2 separate regions of the Homo sapiens genome follow, and region 1 is linked to region 2. Evidence: promoter capture Hi-C in 16 types of primary human blood cells and fetal thymus (Javierre and others, 2016). All regions are on one chromosome and are shown on one strand. Each heading gives the region's core, a stretch centred on a gene start or on the middle of the fragment in contact. The rest is flanking DNA. Distances are from core to core; before and after follow the strand shown.

Evidence for each region. The method cuts DNA at HindIII sites, captures the fragments that hold promoters and counts their contacts. A CHiCAGO score of 5 or more calls a contact.
Region 1: a fragment that was not itself captured here is called in contact with the fragment with the promoter of C20orf141 in region 2 in 2 of 17 cell types (fetal thymus and naive CD8 T cells); the score reaches 5.4 in fetal thymus.

The regions. Positions count from the first base shown.
Region 1 is chr20:2,991,900-2,994,861 of GRCh38, forward strand. All of the region lies in intron 9 of PTPRA (protein tyrosine phosphatase receptor type A), which reads left to right. Among named protein-coding and RNA genes, the nearest start is that of GNRH2, 50 kb to the right of the region's middle. The HindIII fragment of the contact is 6,476 bases long and covers 1-2,962 here.
Region 2 is chr20:2,813,576-2,816,667 of GRCh38, forward strand. C20orf141 (chromosome 20 open reading frame 141) reads left to right here and starts at 1,412. Exons shown (of 3, transcript NM_001256538.2): 1 at 1,412-1,442; 2 at 1,577-1,869; 3 at 1,963-2,255. The coding sequence starts at 1,610. The coding sequence ends at 2,200. TMEM239 (transmembrane protein 239) reads left to right here and starts at 2,789. Exons shown (of 2, transcript NM_001167670.3): 1 at 2,789-2,840; 2 at 2,969-3,092. The coding sequence starts at 2,980. The HindIII fragment of the contact is 5,792 bases long and covers 1-3,092 here.

The DNA of each region.
Region 1 (2,962 bases), core at 413-2,912, 180 kb after region 2:
AGTGAGATAAGTGGTGTGATAATTTGCTTGAAGTTCTCTTCACTAGGAGAATTTCTCTTTTATACACATTCAAAGCCATCACTTAAGTAGTATACCCCATAGCAGTCTACTTCCAGCCCAGCATGGGCCAGCATGTTTCACCAAGCAGTTTATATACCAGGCCGGACTTTTTCTTCTTCAGTTAACTGTTGATGTCAATAGGAAGTCAGAAGTATCTATTGCGGCAGTGGGTTGTGTGGTAGGCATTTTATAGAGATCACTTCCAGCTGATAATGGGATTCTGCTGGGCATGTCCAAATCTATGGCTAATTGAATCTCATAATACCTAGTTTACGAGACCGGCCCGGTGGCTCATGCCTGTAATCCCTGCACTTTGAGAGGCTGAGTTGGACAGATCACCTGAGGTCAGAAGTTCAAGACCAGCCTGGCCAACATGGTGAAACCCCGTCTCTACTAAAAATACAAAAATTAGCCAGGCATGGTGGCAAATGCCTGTAATCCCAGCTACTCGGGAGGTTGAGGCAGGAGAATCGCTTGAACCCGGGAGGCAGAGGTTGCATTGAGCCGAGACCACGCCATTGCACTGTAGCCTGGGCGACAAGAGCGAAACTCCATCTCAAAAAAACAAAACAAACAAAAAAACCCCTAGTTTACGATGGGGAGTTGAAGTCATTTGGATACCTGTCTGTGATCAGGCTTGCAGTCTCTACCCTAGAGCCCAGTACTAGGCTAGGAGCATGGTCTTACCAATAGGATCATGGTCTTATATCCATATCCAAATATTACGATTCTTCTGTTTACCTTACTACAAACACTCTAGAGCTCCATACAATCTACCAGAGCTTATTTCTCTGTGGCCTGGATCAGCAGGAGCACTTTCTCTTTTCAGATCACTCAATAAATTGGTCAGAGGCTGGGCACAGTGGCTCATGCCTTTAATCCTCGCACTTTGGGAGATGAGGCAGGCAGATTGCTTTGAGTCCAGGAGCTCAAGACCAGCCTGGGCAACATGGCGAAAGCCTGCCTCTTCAAAAAATTAGCTGGGCATGGTGGTATGCACCCGTAGTTCCAGCTACTGGGGAGGCTGAGGTGGGGTATTGCTTGAGCCTAGGAGTTTGAGGCTGCAGTGAGCTGTGATTGCACCACTGCACTGCAGCCTGTGTGACAGAGCAAGATCTTGTCTCTATGTAGGTAGGTAGGTAGATTGATTGATTGATCAGATGGATTAGATGGATTAAATTGAGAGATCAGAGTTGGATGCAAGGATAAGGTATCTGCTGTCTCCAAAACTCAAAATGGCCCAGCAAGCATTGCTCCTCTTTGTTAGCAGGAGAGGGGTGGTGGGGCAAGGGGCAACAAGTTGTCTTTTATGTTGGAGGAGATACCCTGACGTGCTGCAGGCCTTTGACTTTCAGAAAATTTGGCTGAGGTGGCAGGCCACTGTATTTTTATGTCTGACATGTACATCTAAGATACATAACTTCCTGCTTTTCATGTCTCACATTGATGTCATTAGCATAGTTGTCAAGGTAATGTCCTGTGAAACAGACAAAATCTTGATGAACCAGATCACAACACAGAAAGGTCAAGATGATTTATCACTGAGGCTGCTCTTGCCATGAGCAAGAAAAACTGCTTCAAGTAGTCCACACAACTTAAAAAGAACACACACTTACCCCTAGCAGTAGTCTAGGTACCAGGAGTTATATGTTAATCTGCAGAAAGTAGAGTACGTCTGGAAAAGTAACTGCAAATCTGCAAAGTCTTCTGTAGCACTTAAGATCCTGCGGTTCACATGGAGACTTCGCCTTTTGCTAAAGAGATCACTGCTCTAGGAGCTTACATTTGCTCTTTCTGTGATGGTTCTTATCCAGTGGGCTAGGGAATCTGTGTGTCTTTGGGCATTACCTAATGGCCAATGTTATTGAAAATCAAGGTGGCACAGAGGGAGGTCTAGCCAACTTCACAGAGCCGGGAGCATCTAGTTTCTTTCCCTCCCTTTTGGAGGCCCTGACAGACAGGCAGGCAGGCAGACAGACAGATCGACAGACAGGTAAGATAGATTAGATAGATTAATAGGTCCTAATGTGAAGCCACCTCAGGCCAAAATTCCTTCCATCAGCTGGCCTGCAAAGGCTCCGTTCTAACTAGCATATCTTAGCGACATTCTGAGTTCCTAGCAAGTAGCTACCTCAAGGCCAGGACCTAGCAGACCCCAAAAGATGCATTTCCCTTTACCTAGTACAGTTGCCATGGCAAATATCTGCAGATTATTAAGAAAAGATGAGGAGGGAGGTTTATAATATATGTGTGTTAATGCGCTGTGGCAGGGTTCCTCCTTACAGATGCCTGGCCTCCCTGTTATTGAAGGGTTCTGGGTCTGAAATGACCCAGGCCTACGAGTTGGATGAGGGGGCCCCCTCTCTAGCATGGTGGTCTAGTAGGCTGCCTAAACTGACCTGGAAAGCTACTTTCCGTTTCCATTACTGGGAGCTTCACAATGAATTATTCACAGCCATAAACGTCTGATCATGGTCTCCAACAGTCTTTCTAGCCCACTTAGATCAGGAATCCCATTTTGAAATAGTCCCTTCCACTAGCATCTCACGCTGCTGAGGACAGCCAGGAAAGCACTTCTGAAAGATTCCAGTGCTTTCCTCACCAGTGTATAGCCTCAGCAAGGCATGTGATGTGGATCCCATCAAGGGCATACTGAAGGTGTCAGTAGAAGGCTGAGCCTTTAGAGTCCATATGCCACTCTGGTCTCCTCTACTTTGTGCCCAGGTTTTTCTGGCTTTTCATTATCACCTCACTAAATCCAGCATTCAGTCCAGGTTTCCACTGGCGAGCCTAGCTCAACATTAAAACCATGGCCAGTTACCTGAGCTGTTACACTACCTGCAGAAGTTCTTTTGACCATACCATAATTAGAAATTTGGCTTTATCCAGGCTGGGCACAATG
Region 2 (3,092 bases), core at 162-2,661:
TAATACACCCACCATCTGGTGCAGTGCCTGGCACATAGGAAGCACTTAAATAAATGATTGTTGAATACAAAATAAACTCTGAGAAAATCACAGACAGAACTCTCCTATACATGCATACAGAGCACCTGGTGCATAGTAAATCTTTAAGGAGCTTTAGACTCTCCGATCCCCCCATGCCCTGCAATATGGAGTAGCCTCATCTTGGTGGACTCATCAGGACATGCTCCCCAGGTCTGTATGTCCAGGAATGCAATTGTGTGGATGCATCCAGGATTGATCAGGCTCAGGGAATTGCCAATCTTAAACCTTAATGTTCCTTTACAAGCACAATTGGAACTTAATGCCAAAAAAAAAAAAATTCTGGGATCTTCTGTTATACCCTATCCCATTACGGACAAATCTACTCGTAAAACCCAGCTGCTGGATAAGCAAGAACAGCCAGACCAAGGGCGATCAGTGCATGGTCATTAGGGCTGGTGACCCTCGTCTCTGGGCAAGGCCTGCTGGAGGTGGATATGCAGCCTGATTCTTGTTCTGTCTCCTCCTCTCCTAGGGGCTGTATGGCCACTGTCTCCCATTTTGCCACCCCTACCAGTTTTCCTTCAAAGTATGATATGTGGGCAAAGATTAAGTTCTCTTAATTATGACACATTTCCGCTCTTGCCTCTCAAGTCACTAAACTGAGATGTGCTGGACCCCTATGGCCACCACCCATTTACAGATGATCAGTGTAATCTGATATACTGATAATCCAAGTGACTAAGCCCTTCATTATATGTTCATTTTCCTTAACTCCATTCTCAGACTGTAACCTTAACCTCTAATAAGGGGGTTACTAGGTCATAGTCCTCTTAAGTTCATGTCCTCTACCTCATTACTGGAACCCCAGTATGCATAACACCCCCTATAAACTGTAGTGCTTAGAATACCTGAACAGCCCCCTCCTCTCTCACCCCCATTTAGCAGGTTATGCGGAAGCCCAGCCCCAGAAGCCTCAGGCAGTCCCCTGGCAGAGCCCATCTCTGCAATCTGGAACTTCAGGCCTGAAAAATCCCCTAGAAGGACCCACAGGGAAGACAGCTGGGGACAGAGATATTGAATGACTTCGCCCTGGACCTGCAGCTCTGCAAACTCACAGGAAGAAGAAAGCAGACCTCGCTCCCTTGGACAGATGCCCAAGTAGTAATGGGGTTAGAATGCCTTCCTGACAACTCAGATCCCCAAGGGAGGGCCCTAGGGCAGAGAATCAGCAAAGGCAAGAGGATGAGTCTTAGTTCTCAGAAATCCCTGACTTCCCAGCTAAGCCCCACCTAGGCCACCAGCTGCTTATGAGGTCAGAGCAGCAGCAGCAGCAGCCCCCTCCCTACCCCACGGCCCCACGTGGTAACAGGTCACAATGCCCCGGGTGCCCACTCCCAGAATGCTGACCAAAGTGGGAGGAGGTGAGGAGGGTTTGCTGGGTGGGTATGGGGGAGGGGGAGACTCTGCAGGAGCCTAATTCCCCACTCTGAGCTCACCCTTCTGTCTGCCCGGGCCCTACCCCTTCCCCTACTCTCACCCTTATAATCCTTTTCAGCACTAGGTCTTCCCGTCACCTCCACCTCTCTCCATGACCCGGCTCTGCTTACCCAGACCCGAAGCACGTGAGGATCCGATCCCAGTTCCTCCAAGGGGCCTGGGTGCTGGGGAGGGGTCAGGTAGTCCAGTGCGTCCACCTGTATCCACCTGGGGCCCTAGCTGGGCCCAGCTCCTGGACAGTGTCCTATGGCTGGGGGCACTAGGACTGACAATCCAGGCAGTCTTTTCCACCACTGGCCCAGCCCTGCTGCTGCTTCTGGTCAGCTTCCTCACCTTTGACCTGCTCCATAGGTAAGTGGGCAGCAGCCTGGCAGGTGGGCATTGTAGGCGGGCGGGCCAGTGGACAACTTCCCTAAGCCCAGTCACCACCCTCTCTCTCCACAGGCCCGCAGGTCACACTCTGCCACAGCGCAAACTTCTCACCAGGGGCCAGAGTCAGGGGGCCGGTGAAGGTCCTGGACAGCAGGAGGCTCTACTCCTGCAAATGGGTACAGTCTCAGGACAACTTAGCCTCCAGGACGCACTGCTGCTGCTGCTCATGGGGCTGGGCCCGCTCCTGAGAGCCTGTGGCATGCCCTTGACCCTGCTTGGCCTGGCTTTCTGCCTCCATCCTTGGGCCTGAGAGCCCCTCCCCACAACTCAGTGTCCTTCAAATATACAATGACCACCCTTCTTCATCAGGCCCCCTTTTCTCCTTCCTGGCTGGGCAGGTGGGATGATACCCCTTTCTTCCCAGCCTGAACCTCACAGTCCTATAATATAGGTATCAGATACCTGGATCTGAGTCTTTGGGCAGCAAGAGAAGGTAGGATACTAGCCAGGGAGCCCAAGGAAGAATGTGGCAGCCACCTCAGAGCCTGTGGATTGGGGGCAGCCACTCTGGCCTCCTCTGTGGCTCTAGAGAATGAAGGTCCAGACAGAAAGACTTGCGAGAGAGCAGTTTGGAAAGGGGTGGATATCAGCCAGCAGGGAAAGCAGGAAAGGGACAGGGATCCAGGGAGGGCTTCCCATGAGAAAGCATGAGAAACTACATCTGCGGGGCTCCGAGGCTCCCCTGCCAGCCTGGAGGGTCCGTGCAGAGGGACTTGGGTGGGCCTCACACCCTACAGTGACTCCTCTCTTGGCTGGACCCCACCCCAGCCCGGGTCACAAAGGGGCTCCTCTGGGGAGGGTGGGGGTAGATGAGAGTGGGGACTTGGATCTGCCTGCCAGGCCGTCCTGGGCGCTGCAGGAAGCAACATGACTTAGGTAACTGCCCAGAGGTAAGTCCCAGTCCCTAATTCTGTAGCCCCACCCCACGCACACTGGTGCCCTCCTGACCCCTGCACCCCCTCTCTGCCCCCCCCCCCCAAGGTCCCAGGCATCTTCAAGACCCTGGCCCTCTCCCCAGGTGCACCAGACATGATGCAGCAGCCGCGAGTGGAGACAGATACCATCGGGGCTGGCGAGGGGCCACAGCAGGCAGTGCCCTGGTCAGCCTGGGTCACGAGGCATGGCTGGGTGCGCTGGTGGGT